Linked DNA regions of Homo sapiens: region 1 is linked to region 2. The links are contacts of gene promoters, found by promoter capture Hi-C in human tissues and cell types (Jung and others, 2019). All regions are on one chromosome and are shown on one strand. The core of a region is centred on a gene start or on the middle of the fragment in contact, and the rest is flanking DNA. Distances in the headings are between cores, read along the strand shown.

Region 1 (6,131 bases), core at 845-3,344, 40 kb after region 2:
GTGTGACCCACTGCACCTGGCCTCTTCTCTATTTGATTTTTTAAAAATAATTTTACCTCTTACATTTATGTCTTTAATCCATTCAAAGCACACTTTTTCATTGTTTAATGTAAGTTATAAGGTCTAACATTATTTTGCCTTATCATAGTAATTCACTTTCCGGTCACAATTTGCAAATGATCCATCCTTTCTGCGTGTTATGTGGTTCCAACTTCATCTTTACGAAGTTCCCATATATATGTAGTACTACTTCTAAGACCTCTGTTCTTCTGCAGTGGTTCAGATTCAGCACCACGCTATTTTTATGGCTCCATCATGTCTCAGTGTCTGATGAAGTGAGTATTCCTCTCCTTGCTTATCTATTTCAAAGTGGCCTTAGCTATTTTTGAAATTTTACTTTTCCGTATAAATTTTAAGAGTGAATTTGTGGAGTTCCTTAAAAAATCCTTTTGCAAATTTGATGGGATTGCTTTGAATGTACAGATTAATTTGGGGAGCACTGACACCTTTACTTTGACATGTCATCTTTGACATTTCAAAGAGTTGATGTCTACCCATTTATTCAGAATTTTCTTTAGTTTTTATTCTGTAAAAATCAAAGTTTTTTTGTTGATTTCCAGACTGATTATAATCTCTTACTATTGCGAATGATATCTTATTGTTGAGGTCATCATTGCTAGCACAGAGGAATATTATTGTGTTTTGTAAATTTTATCCTATAATAGAACAACCTTGTCAAACTCTTACTAATTCTAATAGTTTGTTAATTCTGTTGAATCTTCTGCGTGGATAATACTTTTGTCTGAAAATAGTAAGTTTACTTTCCCCATCTAATCCTTACGCATCTAATGTCTTTTTCTTGCCTACAGCATTGGTTAGTTCTTTTTGTACTATGTTAAGTGGAGAAATGATAACAGGAATTCTTGTCTTGTGTCCAATATTATTGGGAATACATTTCTCTGTTACATGTGATGCTTAGTGTAGGTTTTTGATATGTAGCCTATTTTAAGCCAAGGAAATTACCTAAGATTCATAACTCTCTGGGGTCACTGAACTTCATCAAATGCTTTGTCTGCATGTTTTTATATAATCAAGTGATTTTTGTCCTTCATACCATATTGCCTCTCACTCTAAAGAACGAACGGAAGGGGCAAGGAGGGGGATTATTAGGCATGTGTCCTGTGCCAAGGAATCCTGATGGGCTGAAGTGAGAATTAGACATTATGGGAAAATTTCAATGAACAATACCAGGGGCAGGTAATCAGTGGTTCTCCAGGGCTTCAGAGGAAGCAATGGAAGGGGTAGGGAGAGAAGTAATCACATTAAGATGGTAAGGTGGTGTAATTAAAAGAGGAAAAAGTCACTTAAATTTACTGAGTACTTTTTATGTGTCAGGCTCAGAAGCCATTTTAAAGCTTAAACCTCATAACAACACTGTGAGGTGGTCATTATTTTGCCTGCTTTAAAGAGGAAGAAACAAAGGCTTAATGAAGTTAGGTAACTTGCCCAGGTTCTTGCAGCTAGAAAGTGCTAATGCCAGGACTCTTTCCAAAGCCCAGGTCTCGTTCCAAAGCGCAGGTCTTTTCCACATGCCATAGTATGTTCCTTAAAAGATTTCTAATGATAATACAAAGGAGATATGAAAATGAAACCTAGTCAGTCATCAAAAACACTGAAATAGTTCTATCTCAGTATATACAAATTTGTGAAAAAAGAAAATGAACCAGAGGTCCTTTGAGAAATGAGTGATTCCAACTAGAACAGAGAAAGTAAGAGATAAGCTTGGAACACGTTATTATGCCAGAAAGTAAAAAAGTCCTCATACAAAGTAATGGAGACCTGTGAAAAGGCTATAGGAATCAGCTTGAAGGGGCTGTAGCTGGCCAAATTTAGAAAAATTTGAGCATCAAAAGAACAGTAATTTATGGAAATCCATTGAATAAAATAATTCACAAGTTTGTGCTGATAATAAATAATAGAAAAATAAATAAAAATACGGGAGAAAAGAAGCTTTTACTTGAGGTAGAATACCAACCTATAAATATGGAGGGAGTGGTATGGTTGGAAAAAATAACTATTTTGCAATAATCATAACAAAGATTGTTTTAGGCTTGAATCATCAGTGGATACTATATCTAGGGTATAAATATTGATGCAGATCATGACATTTTCATGGTCTTAAAATGTTTACTCCTAGATTACCTATTAGATGGAAGGGAGGAGTGTAGTAAATGTATAGTGGAGAAAGTGGACAACACCTTGATCTAGTAGTAAAAATTAATATCACCAGTGATGGACTCATATGCCTCCAGATGTGATATTTTGAGAAGGACACAACACCACTTTATGTGGTGTTCTGTAGTATACTGTAGTAATATGTGTAGTATATGCAGTTTGAATTTAATCATAAGGAAACATCAGCCAACCTCAAATTGAGGAGCATTGTATAGAATAGCTGACCCCTGCTGAAAGACTGAGGAACTAACTGTTCCAGATTTAAAGAGATTGAAAAGATGTAACATATAAAATCCAACATGTGATTCTTGACAGTATCCTGTACAGGAGAGAGAAATGTTCTAAAAGACATTATTGGTATAATTGACAAAACTGGATTATTGGTGGTAGATTAGATAAAACTATTATCATCTATTTTGGATTTCCTGAATTGTGTAGCTAGTGTAGCATTGTAAAAGAATATCCTTGCTCTTAAGAAACACATACTAAAGTATTGAGAAAAGGAGTGTTCACAAATGGTTAAGAAAAGAAACCGACGATAAAGTGAATATTGGTAGAAGAAAAAGAAAATATGCCAATATGGAAAAAATTAGTGAAACTGAATAAAGGGTATATGAAAGTTCTCTGTATGATTTTTACATCTTCTTAGTAAGCATGCAATTATTTCCATATTGAAAAATACTGCAGAAAAATTTAGTACATGTGGTCATTTGTCAAAAATACTGATGAGCCTGGGCGACATAGTGGGACTCCATATCTACAAAAAATACAAAAATGAGCCAGGTATGGTGACACACACCTGTAGTCTCAGCTACTTGGGAGGCTGAGGCAGGAGGATTGCTTGAGCACAGGAGGTCGCCACTGCACTGGAGCCTGGGTGACAGAGTGAGACCCTGTATCAAAAAAAAAAAAAAAAAAAAAAAAGAAAAGAAAAAACAACAAAAAATTCTGATGAGTTTCGGCAGTCAACATTTGACCCATGACATCTCTATTTCCCTAGGAGAATGAAATAATAGCATTCCTGAAGGGCATATTGGTCCCCAAGACTGACTCATTAGGAGTGAAGACTTCCTACTTGTTGTTGGCTTAACTGCCTTTTGCTTGTAGGTTTAGTAACAGAATTATAAAAAGAGGAGCCATTTATTGGGGAACAGAGGGTTTTGTTTCCTTACTCAAAATAGAATATGCCAAACCTAACAATTTCAATTTTGCTAAAACTTTAACATCTCAATTCCCCAATATGATATGTTTATAATAATATTCCTTAAGAAATCACCCCTCTATAGTACCCTGAACTGGTGGGGACTGAAAAACATTTACTCTTTAGTTTAATTTCCAACTGTGTTCCAAGATTCCATATGGAGTTCAGGATTACTTTTGGGATATGGTTTGAGCAGTAGCAAGGAAGTCACCCTGATTGTATTATCTCTAATATTTTGCCTATCAGAAGTGAATAGGAATGTTACAAGTTGGGTTGTGTTTCTTTTCTTTGTTGTTTAAAATACATTTGAAAAATTGTGGTAAAATATATATAACATAAAATTTACCAGTTTAACTTTTTGAAATTATCCAGTTGACCCTTGAACAACACGGGTTTGAACTACACAGATCCACTTATATGTGGATTTTTTTCCCAATAAATACATTAGACAATTTTTTGGAAATTTGTAACAATTTGCAAAAACTTGCAGATGAACCCCTATAGCCTGGAAATATTGAAAAAAGAAAACGGTATATCATGAATGCATAAAATATATGTAGATACTAGTCTATTTTGTCACACACTACCATAAAATATACACAAATCTATTATAAAAAGTTAAAATTTATCAAAACTCACACATACAAACACAGACCATATATGGTACCGTTTACAGTCTAGAGAAATGTAAACAAACATAAAGATGCAGTATTAAATCATAACTGCATAAAATTAACTGTACTACATTCTGTACTATTGTAATAATTTCATAGCCACCTCCTGTTGCTCAAATATTGTAAGTATCTGCTTAAAACACCATGTGATGCTAATCATCTCTGTGTGAGCATTTCACCTCTCGAGTAAATTCTTTTTTCTTTTTTCTTTTTTTCTTTTTTTTTTTTTTTGAGACGGAGTCTCACGCTGTCGCCCAGGCTGGAGTGCAGTGGCGCGATCTCGGCTGCCTGCCACCTCCGCCTCCCGGGTTCAAGCGACTCTGCTGCCTCAGCCTCCCGAGTAGCTGGGACTACAGGCGCGCGCGCTACCAAGCCCAGCTAATTTTTGCATTTTTAGTAGAGACAGGGTTTCACCATATTGGCCAGGATGGTCTCCAACTCCTGACCTCGTGATCCGCCCGCCTCGGCCTTCCAAAGTGCTGGGATTACAGGCGTGAGCCACCGCGCCCAGCGAACTTTATTTCTTATAAAGGGTTACAACCTGCAGACTGGAAAGAGGAGTCTCTGGCCAAAACCAAAAGCAGACACTTCAGAGACAAAAGGGAGAGATGCTGAGATTTATGCCCAGTATGATTAGCTATACATATATTCAGTAGGTTATAGGAGCATCTTGTTAATATTTATGAGGGAGTCTAACACATGCATAGTGAATACACATATATTACATACAACCCATGTTCACTTTGAGGTAGAGACTTAACATCCAAATGCAGTAAAATTAGGCTCTATACACCAAAAGGTGAAACATAGGGCATAAAGGCACTTAGTGCACAGTTTCTGTAAACTGGCCAGAATCTGTCTGTGGTTGGTGGACAGTTATTAGGATGGAATGCTTTGCAAGGCTGGCCGTGTGTAAGAGTGAAACTTTGATACAGACAGGAGGGAGGTGGACCACAATGTCGGATGGTCTGTCGAGGTTGCAGGGGAAGTCTTCCAGACATAGTTTTTTAGGAACTGGTTTTTCTTTAATTGTAGGAAAGTCTTGAGGTGGTTAATGAGATAGGGGAGAGTTGAGGCATGACTGACCTCTTGCGTTGCCAAAGCTGTAGAATACAGCTTAAAAGGTTTTCTGGGATCTCTTGCCACAGGCAGTCCATTTCATTCTGCCTGGAGGGCCTAAGAGCTTTATTTTTATTTTATAATGACAATACTGTAAACCTTGAACAACACCGTGGGACCTATGCAAAGTGCTACTAGTGATGCCAGAAATGCTCCCAAGAAGCAGAGAAAAGTCATGACTTTACAAGAAAAAGCTGAACTGCTTGATATGTACCACAGATTGAGGTCTGCAGCTGTGGTTGCCTGCTGTGTCAGATCTTGTAAACAGATAACATAAACTTAGAGTATTGATAAATACAGTACAGTACTGTAAATGTATTTTCTCTTCGTGATGATTTTCTTAATGACATTTTCTTTTCTCTAGCTTACTTTATTGTAAGAATATAGTATATGATACATATGACATACAAAATATGTGTTAATAGACTGTTTATGTTATTGGTAAGGCTTCTAGTCAACAATAGGCTATTTGTAGTGAAGTTTTGGGGTAGTCAAAAGTTATATTCGAATTTTTGACTGTATGGGGGACAGGTCAGTACTGTAAACTCCATACTCTTCATGGGCCAGTTGTCCAATTCAGTGGCATTAAGTACATTAACATTGTTGTGCTACCATCACCACCGTTCATTTACAAAACTTTTCATCTTGCAAAACTGAAACTCTGTACCCATTAAACAATAACTCTCCAATTCCCCCTCCCCAAGACCCTGACAGCCGCCATTCTATTTTCTGTCTCTACGGATTTGACTGCTCTAGGTGCAGGACCTCATGTAAGTGAACATACAATATTTATCCTTTTGTTACTGGTTTATTTCACCTTGGCACAATGTCCTCAAGATTCACCTATGCTGTAGCATATGTCTGAATTTTCTTTCTTCTTAAGCCTAAATAATATTCCATTG
Region 2 (2,500 bases), core at 1-2,500:
TGCCTGGTCACCGGGGAGGAACTTTACAACATCACTGAAGGTTTGAGAATAGTGCTTCTGGCTGGTCGCGGTAGTTCCTAAGCTGCCTTTGTTCCCACTTCTCTGATCCAGGTTAACTTTTAACATTCTGACAAACTCGGACAAAAGTAACGTTGGGATTACGTCAGGAATTCCCACCCTTCAACAAATATTTGTTGCGGGCCTACTATGTACTCAGTGCAATGATACCCAATTTTGTAGTCTCCTAAACAGATCCTACTCGAGAGGTCTTGATTATTTACAGATGCAGTTAGAAAAGCGCCCATATTATTTTTAATTGAGTTCAAGAAATAGAATGCAGCGTTGAATTAGAAGACTAATTCCTTCTTTTAATATGTTGAAAATTTTTTATCGTTAAACATTTTGTAAAGGATTTTTTGAGGGAGTCGTTAGAAAGTCTATAAATACAACTACGCACACTAAAAAGTAGTCATCTTTTTAAAAATAACTTTGTTTAAATGCATGCTTAGTGTGAATGGATTTACCTAATTCTCTTAATAGCATGCATTTCTGATCTTCCCTACATTAACTGTAATAGCAACTGATATAACAGAAAAATGTAAGTGACTTGTAGTCGACTTGGCCACCTGCCACACGGGCTCGGTGAAGGTTAATGAGGAGCTATTTGGCACTTCGAGAATAGGTGGCACTAGACACAGAAATATCAACAGGCTATTTGTATGCTAACTAGGAGTTTCGGTGCCAGGTAACCATTGATGTACTCTTGCAGGAGAAAGAAGGATGTCGCTGTACGCCCCGAAAGAGAGGCATCATTTTTACGCCCAGTTTGGATTAATGATTGATTGAGTCGCAGAAATGCTTGTGATGCTGATAGAGGCCAATACTGGTCTTTCTGATCTCTTCCTCGTCGTTTATTACCTTCTCTTGTGGACAACGCATTCCTAAGAATGTATCTCTGCTTGTTTCCCAGTCCGCGAGATAAATGGTGACTTCTCTCTTGCAGGCACCGTCATACCTCGGGTTTAGATTCTGGACAGGCGAGCCGGCTGCACCGAAGGCCCGGTAGGCGGACTCTGGCGGAGCGCTTCAGAGAGAAGAGTGTAGACCGCGGGAGGCGGAGGGCTCCCTGCCAGCGTGCCTCGGCCAATCAGTATTCACACCGCCTGACAACCGGCCAATCAGAGGACGTAAAGCTCCGGGGCCTGAGCGGACAGTACTAGGAAGGGGAGCGCAGTCTGCAGACTGAAGCCAGTGGCGCTGCGCTGAATGCAACTGCGCGCGCCCGCCGGGTGAGCCAGCGATCTGAGCCAGGCGGGGGCGGCCCGACCTTTCCCGCCCAGCCTGGGTCAGAGGAAGCCGAAAGCGGCCTCAGCAAGGTGAGGCGCCCGAGGCTGCAGAAGACCGAGCAGAACTTTGCAGAGTTCGGGATGTGCTGGGCTAGGTCGCTGAGGACTTGACTGGCTTCCTCCCTCCTTCCCTCCACCTACCTTCTCCCTCCCCCTCCACCATCCAGTGGGTTCGTTCCGGGCCTCCAGCTATCAGCTCCCGATCTCGTGTTTGAGGGTAGCGACCCCGATTTCTGTTTGCATGCACAGCCAGCAGCCCTAGCGCCAGATCCTAAAGCTGGATATCTTTTAACTGGGCTACCAGCCCGGGCCTCAAAGTTTTGGTGAGTGCTGTGATGCCGCTCGGGGTGTCAGGGAGGGCAAAGGGCGTGAATCATCTTTCACCTTTTCTGTGTGACTTGGATGCCTTACCTTAAATATATAAACCAAGGCCTAAGTACAGAGAGCCCACGCGGCTCAGCCCTGTGCACCTCAGGTACTATTAAGGCTGGACGGGCGTCTGTATTGTGCTCTTTGCCCTTATGGGACGCTAATGACAACAAAATTTTGGTTTTCAGTTGAGTATTTTGGGGAGGGGGGTGAGAGGACCTCTTCAAGCCCAAGGAGGGGTCCTTGTGGTGGTGTAGGCTGATGAGAGGCATTTGGGAAGCATAGAGTGGTACTTCAGTGAGTCTGAAGGGCCACTTGTAATCAAAGGAAAACTGTTCTTCCACGGATAGTTTTATATGCATCATGGCCATACTAGTTGAGTATGGGGAAATCCGACAAGTGGCCTGGGGCTGCCTATTTGGACACAATATTTTGTGTGTGTGTGATAAGTGAGTTACCCAGGGACTTGTCCGGAAAGCCCGTGTAAAGCCAGAGAGGGCCACGGTTAAAGGTCAGGTACTCACAGAGCACTTAGAATTAATAAAATAAAACCTTTGTTGGGTTGTGGATCCCTGGGGGCCCTGGAGATACAGGAAAGGCACGTGTGGCCTGGAAGTGAGGGACATGTAATGAGAACAGGATGACTCAAGCGGCCGGAGGCGGGCAGACCAGGAGCTTTGGGCCGGAGGCTCAGGGATGGTCCCTGACGGCGGCCGGTGGGTCTTTGGATTTCTTTGTGTTTCCCCAGAGTGAGGGCCGCCAGGCTCAGGCCCCAGCGAAGCCCC

The links. Contacts are between HindIII fragments. The study calls those that stand out against the background at their distance.
Region 1: a fragment that was not itself captured here is called in contact with the fragment with the promoter of DMRT2 in region 2 in 2 of the 25 tissues and cell types used here (lymphoblastoid cells and mesenchymal stem cells).

The regions. Positions count from the first base shown.
Region 1 is chr9:1,088,229-1,094,359 of GRCh38, forward strand. No RefSeq gene overlaps it. Among named protein-coding and RNA genes, the nearest start is that of DMRT2, 41 kb to the left of the region's middle. The HindIII fragment of the contact is 5,637 bases long and covers 1-4,913 here.
Region 2 is chr9:1,049,107-1,051,606 of GRCh38, forward strand. It overlaps DMRT2 (doublesex and mab-3 related transcription factor 2), which reads left to right and starts at 1,251. Exons shown (of 4, transcript NM_181872.6): 1 at 1,251-1,669; 2 at 2,464-2,500. RefSeq lists an enhancer at 1,023-1,892. The HindIII fragment of the contact is 14,990 bases long and covers 1-2,500 here.